Regions from separate parts of the Homo sapiens genome. Here region 2 is linked to region 1. The links are contacts of gene promoters, found by promoter capture Hi-C in blood cells and fetal thymus (Javierre and others, 2016). All regions are on one chromosome and are shown on one strand. The core of a region is centred on a gene start or on the middle of the fragment in contact, and the rest is flanking DNA. Distances in the headings are between cores, read along the strand shown. Region 1 holds the start of ZNF471 (zinc finger protein 471). Region 2 holds the start of ZNF790 (zinc finger protein 790).

Region 1 (3,446 bases), core at 711-3,210:
TGTCCCAGTCTGAGTGAGTGTGGGTGTGTAGTAGGCTACACAATCTAGGTTTGTGTAAGTACACTCTATGATGTTTGCACAACAAGGTTCTTAGGAAATTGCCTAAGAACCCATTTCTCAGAATGTATCTCCATCCTTTAGCGATGTAGACTGTATTTCCATACTGTAAATAGTCCCCTTGTGGTGGATTTCAATCTACCAATATGACATCACTGAATGTGGAGTTAGAAAGAAAGGTACAGTTCATGGCTCTCAGTTCCTACAGCTCTTTTAATTTCCTAAATGACTGCAGCAATAAAGTATCTTTTGTTAAAATATCTGGCCTTTTGTTCCTGGTTCCTGAAAAAGCTCCAGAACAGCTCCAGAGCCATAAAGGTGAAAGACAGTATTTCAACCACACATGAGTTTATGTTAATGAGGTGATTTTTGGAAACTCTCAAGATAATCCCAATATTTGGGGGGAGTGGTGGCTAGTTGCCAGAGGAACCAGCCATGTGCTCAGAGGACTGGAACTCACAGCTCCACCCTCTACTTCTGGGAAAAGAGAGAGCCTGAAAATTAAGTTGATCGCCAGTGGCCAATGATTTAATCAATCACATCTACATAATGAAACCTTGAAAACCGAAAAGGCCTGAGTTCAAGCGGCTTCCAAGAAGGTAGACAAAAACACATCCTCGTGCTGGGAGGGTGGTGCACCCCAACTCCACGGGCACAGAAGTTCCTGCACTAGGGATTCTCTCGGACCTTGCCCTACATGTCTCTTCATCTGGCTATTTGTATCCTTTAAAATATCTTTTATAATAAACCAGTAAACATAAGTGTTTCCTTGAGTTCTGTGAGCTGCTCTAGCAAACTAATGGAACCCAAGGAGCCGGCTGTGGGAGCCCCAATTTATAGCACATCTCTCTGAAACACAGGTACAACAATCTGGAGTTTGGAATTGGCATGGGAAGTGGGGGACAGTCTTTTGGGACTGAGCTGTCTAACCTGTAGGATCTGATGTTTTCCAGGTAGCGTCAGAATTGAATTGGAGTAGCGGTCACCTGGCTGGTGTCTGCTGCAGACAGGTTTTTTTGACATGTTAAGACATTATAAGAGACAATAGAAAAAATGTATACGATACAACCTTCTCTGAGTTATATTTCTCCATAGCCCTTTTTACTGTTCATCAGACTGTTTATCTAACTCATGAATTTGTGGCTTGTCTCTCTCCGCTTCAAAGTAAATTACATAATAAGAGGACAGGGATTTTTTTTTCTCTGCTGTATCCCCCTGAATTGCTTTTCCTTATTTGTCTCACCTTCCAATACTAATTCTACAGTTCTCCTAGTCAGGGCTAGTCCCCTAAAACGGGGACCATTTCCATTTTGTTAAGGGGCTGAACGCGGTTCAAGCCTAGCAGATTGGTTCCAAAAACGTCGTGTTATTCACTGCCTCTGATCAGTGACATTCCCATTTGCAGCTGAAAGAGGTATTAATTCGCCAGAGTCACAACACGGTCGGGGTTCCTCGTCGCTGTCTTATTCCAAAATAAGCTTAACACAGAAAGATAATGACACTCCCACGGACTGGCACAGAAGGCCGCGCTCCGAATGACATCGCGATCACAGAGGCACAGACAGCGTCACAAAGCCCCACGCGTACTCACACCGAAGGCTCAGCCGTCGCGCGTTTCCCTCCCAGGCCCCAGGAACTAGTAACTAGGGACGCTTCTGGTCTCTAGGCGAGGAGAGGGGGAGAGCGCAATCTTTGCGCCTGCGCACACTCCTGCTCTTACCCGCCGGAACCCTGGGCCACGCCCGGCTCGCGTAATCACGCACTGCGCAGGCACCGCCCGCTCTGCTCTAAGGTCCCTCTCACTCCTTCAGCAGCCCGAGGACAATCCCCTCAACACTAGGCCACGCCTTGTCTCCGCCCCTCTCGTCCGACCCCTGGAGAGAGGCTGGCGCCTGCGCGATGGGGGGTTCCAGCGTCGACTCACGGAGTCCTTCGGATGAGAGCGTCTGGGTGCCAGACGAGGCCGGGGGTTTGTTTTGGGTGGTTTGGGAGTCCGAGCTCGAGGGCTGGGCCAGGAAGGGCAGGCGAGGCGGGCGGCTCCGACGCGGGTCGCGAAGGCCCAGCCGCGTCCTCTGTCCCCAGGACGACTACATTTCCCAGAGGCCAGCGGGGCGCGCGTACTCGAGTCTGCGGGGCGGAGGCCGCGGCTCGGGGCTGCTGGGCGTTCGGGGCGGCTTGGGGCGGCGGGACCACTGGAGTGAGCTGTGGGAGAGATGGGGGTGTGCCTGTGTGTAAAAGATCTGTCAGAGTGTGAGGCTCCGTGAGAGGGTGTGGTTTCTGTGTGTGTGTGTGTGTGTGTGTGACAGACCGAGAGTCCAGTGTGAGACCAGGGTATGTTCGTGTGTGACAGAGCGAGACGGGCCAGTGTGAGAGACCAGTGAGTGTGAGAGAGATAGGGATGTGCCTGCATTTGAAAGAGAGCGTGTGAAGCTCAGTGAGAGGTTGCGAGGTGTGTGGGTGTGTAAGTGTGTAACAGACCAGGTGTCCAGAGCGTGAGACCAGGATGTATTCGTGTGAGAGAGTGAGACGGGCTGGATGGAGTGTGAGAGACCAGTGAGTGTGAGAGATGGGCGTGTGCCTGTGTGTGAAAGGCCGGTCGGTCGGTGGGTGAGGCTCAATGAGAGGCCGGTGTGTGTTCGAGAGAGAGAAGAATCACCATGTATGCGAGACTAGACTGTGCAAGAACAGAGTGTGAGACTGTGGTATGTTAATGTGTGAAAGGGAGACCAGTGAGTGTGAGAAATGGGTGTTTTGGGTGAAAGACCCGTCAGTGTGTGAGGCCGTGTTATGTGTGTCTGACAGACTGAGAGAGACCAGAGTGTGAGACCAGGGTGTGTTCGTGTGTGAGAGACAACATAGCGTGAGACCAGTGAGTGTGAGAGAGATGAGCACGTGGCTGTGTGTGAAAGACCAGTCATTATGTGAGGCTCCTTGAGAGGCTGGTGTGTGTGTATGAGAGAGAGAAAGAGACTAAACTGTGAGAGTCCAAAGAGTGAGACTAGGTTATGTTGTTATGAGTTTGTGAGAGAGAGGGAGGCGATCAAAGTATAGGACAAAGTTATGTTTCCTGGCTTACGACTTCTAAGATCCTTGGAATCTCCAAAGTATTAAGTGTCTTTTTGCATGCTAATGATTGGTGGGCTGGCAGCCTGTAGGTTGATCACGGTAAGGGATGGTCACAAGAACAATCTAGGCAGGATTAGAGGGTTGGGATTACCTGCCCCATCCCTCAATCTCCAGGGAAAGGAAAGGGAGCCACAGGTTAAACTGATCATCAGTGGTCAGTGATTTAACCAGTCATGCCTACATTATGAAGCTTCCATAAAAACCCAAAAGGACTGGGTTCATCAAACTTCCAGATAGCTGAACACTGGAGGTTCCTGTAGGAT
Region 2 (3,468 bases), core at 232-2,731, about 20 Mb before region 1:
TGATGGTGGAAGGTTCCGCGATCTTTCTATTAACCCTAAAGGGACAGAGGGCTGACAGGAAGTTGCCCGGGGAACGGTGCACTCTGGGAAATGTAGTCCGGAGCCTGGGCCGTCTTTAACTGCCCCGGACACCGCGGTCACCATTAACGGACCCTGCATTTGAGCCCCATCCCCTCGCTGGGCAAAGACCATCGCCCACACACCGCTCACATCTGCTGCCGAGAGCTTCCAGAATTCCAGGCCGCGTTTAGGAAGCTTCAGCGGAGGCATGCAGGCTGCCCTACCTCTGCAAAAGGCTCCCAGCCCTGGGAACAGGACAGTAAGCCCAGGCCATCTTAGGCTGGAAGTAACCTTGGTCCCGACGGCCCTGGGAAATGTAGTCCAGAGCCTGGAACACTGCAGAAATGCCCCGGGGGGATGGTGCGATGGTTTTCAGTAGGAGCTCGCTGCGTGGGCCTCTGACCTATGTGGCATGGCGGGAAAGTCCTACAAGACTGTGCCAAGCGAGTGGCGAGTCTGTCCCGTCTCTGCCCGAGCCTCGGCCCGGCTGGGTGGACACCTCTTGTCCCACAAGTACCAGCCTGGGATAGAACGAAGGGGAAACGATCCATGGGACACAGCTACATGCCCAGCCCTATAGGGGTACCCTGTCTGGGAATCCATGAGAACTCTTCCTAATACCTTATTCCCATCCTCCAATCGCCCTTAAAGTGTTTGGTTTCAATTAATGTTTATAGTAACATTAGTACTGTTTTGTAAATTCCATTCATGCCATTCTTTTTGCTGAAGTACACACTTGCCAGTTTTCATTTGCTTCTCTTTTAGATGTACATCATTTCAATCTACATCTAAACTTTCTGACAGAGGAGTAATTTTTTTCAGTACTTTCAAACTTATCAGGTAACTAAAATAGTTGTTTCTTTTTTTATTGTGAAACAGAAAATACTTGAAGTGCATAAAATGTGTAAGTTCAGTATAACTCCACACAAGTGTTGGTATCTCAAGAACAAATGCCCATTCTATGTGATCATTTCTCTTTTTGTTTGTTTGTTTGTTGTTTTTTTTGAGACAGGGTCTGGCTTTGTCACCCAGGCTGGAGTACAGTGGCACGATCTAGGCTCTCTGCAACCTCTGCCTCCCTGGCTCAAGTGATCCTCCCACCTCAGCCTCCAGAATAGCTGGGACTACAGGTGTGTGCCATCACACTCAGCTAATTTTTATAGAGACAGGGTCTCGCCATGTTGGCCAGGCTGGTCTCGAACTCCTGGGCTCAAGTGATCCTCCCAAGTAGGCCTCACAAAGTACTGGCATTACAGGCATGAGTCACTGCACATAACCTGTGTGATCATTTCTGATACCCAGCTCCAGCTCCAGCTGATCTTTAGGGTATTAATAATATCTTGGCTCTTTAATAGTTTTAATCTCTCAGCTGGACGCGGTGGCTCACGCCTGTAATCCCAGCACTTTGGGAGGCTGAGGAGGGTGGATCACCTGAGGTCAGGAGTTCGAGACCAGCTTGGCTAACATGGTAAAACCCTGTCTCTACTAATAATACAAAAATTAGCTAGGTGTGGTGGTGCATGCCTGTAATCCCAGCTACTCTGGAGGCTGAGGCAGGAGAATCGCTTGAACCCAGGAGGCAGAGGTTGCAGTGAACCAAGATCACACCACTGCACTCCAGTCTGGGCGACAAGAGCGAAACTCCATCTCAAAAAAAGAAAAAAAAGTTTTAATCTTGCTGTGAAATGTATATAAATGCAATCAAATTGTACAAATTTTCTGTCTTGATTAGTTGTTAAACTCCTAACTGGATTAACCGAAAACCCCATAGTAAAGGCCTTACAGAAGGAAAGGTATGCCCATCCAGCCATCAACATCATTTTCCTGGTACTACTGGCAGGGGACCCCAAGACCAACCACTACACGCCCAAGCTCTGATGATTCACTGGGAGGCTCACAGTGAAGTGATACAAAAGAAAATCAGTAAAGAAAAAAGCGCATGGGGCAAAGTCCAGGGGAAACCAGGTGCACACTGCGAAGGGTTCTTTCCCAGTAAATTTATATGGGATTTATTTGTTCCCCAGCAGTGAGTTGTGACAATACATGTGAGATGTTACCAATCAGGGCAGTTTATTATAGATTCAGTGCCCTATGTTTTTATTGGGGGCTGGTCACATAGGCAGTCTGTGCCTAACACATACCAGAATTTCAAATTCCCAGAAGGAAAGCGGGTGTTTAACATAAACCATACTGTTTGTACAAAAAGTTTAGGCATAGTAAGCCACTTATTAGGAAGGTGGGAACCAATCTGAAATTCAAGTTCTAGATGCAAGCCAAAGACTAACCTCGCATATCAGGCCTTTCTAAGGATAAGTAGTCTCAGACCTGCTATGTTAACTAATTTCTGCTCACTACTGTCCTAAAGATGTATGGTTTTCAGCAACATCAAATTACAAGACACATGAAAAGGCAAGAAAAATCATGACACTCAAGACATAAAAGCAAAAAGCAACAACAAACAAATAGAGGTAGACTCAGGTAGGATCTCCCCAGGAGCTTGAGGCTGCAGTGAACTGTGATTGCACCACTGCACTCTAGCCTGGGCAACAAAGCAAGACCCTACCTCAAAAATTAAAAGAAAAGAAAAAGATATGATGTAGATGTTGGAACTATCTAAAAAGGAATTTAAAATATTATTAATATTTTCAAAGCTTTACCATAATGTTTTTCAACCAGAGGTGATTTTGTTCTCCAGGAGATATACAGCACAGTATGAAGTTCTTGGTAGTCACAACTGGAGAGGTACAATTTGCATTTAGAGGACAGAGGTCAGGGAAGCTGCTAAATACACTACAAGCACAGGATAGCTTGCCACAACAAAGAATTATCCAGTCCCAAATAATGGTCCAAGGTTGAGATGCCCTAAGTAATCAAGACAGTGTGTTTTTGGTGAAGGACAGAAAGATAGATTAATGGAAGGAACAGGCTGGGCACGGTGGGTCATGCCTGTAATCCCAGCACTGTGGGAGGCCAAGGCAGGTGGATCGCATGAGGTCAGGAGTTTGAGACCAGCCTGGCCAATGTGGTGAAACCCCATCTCTACTAAAAATACAAAAATTAGCTGGGTATGGTGGCTCGTGCCTGTAATCCCAGCTACTCAGGAGGCTGAGACATGAGAACCTCTTCAACCTGGGGAATGGAGGTTGCAGTGAGCTGAGATGACACCACTGCACTCCAGCCTGGGCAACAGAGCAAGACTCCATCTCAAAAAATATATATATATATTTTTAGGCCAAGGCAGGCGGATCACCTAAGATCAGGAGTTCAAGACCAGCCTGTCCAACATGGCGAAATCCCATCTCTACTAAAAAATACAAAAATTAGCTGGATGTGGTAAGGCAGGGAGAATTGCTTGAACCCAGGAAGTGGAAGTTGCAGTGAGCCGAGATCACACCACTGCACTGCAGC

The links. The method cuts DNA at HindIII sites, captures the fragments that hold promoters and counts their contacts. A CHiCAGO score of 5 or more calls a contact.
Region 2: a contact is called between a fragment that was not itself captured here and the fragment with the promoter of ZNF471 in region 1, in 1 of 17 cell types (total B cells). The highest score is 7.1, in total B cells.

Annotation. Positions count from the first base shown.
Region 1 is chr19:56,505,895-56,509,340 of GRCh38, forward strand. ZNF471 (zinc finger protein 471) reads left to right here and starts at 1,961. Exons shown (of 5, transcript NM_020813.4): 1 at 1,961-2,026. The HindIII fragment of the contact is 1,838 bases long and covers 1,534-3,371 here.
Region 2 is chr19:36,838,354-36,841,821 of GRCh38, forward strand. It overlaps ZNF790 (zinc finger protein 790), which reads right to left and starts at 34. Exons shown (of 5, transcript NM_206894.4): 1 at 1-34. The HindIII fragment of the contact is 2,456 bases long and covers 254-2,709 here.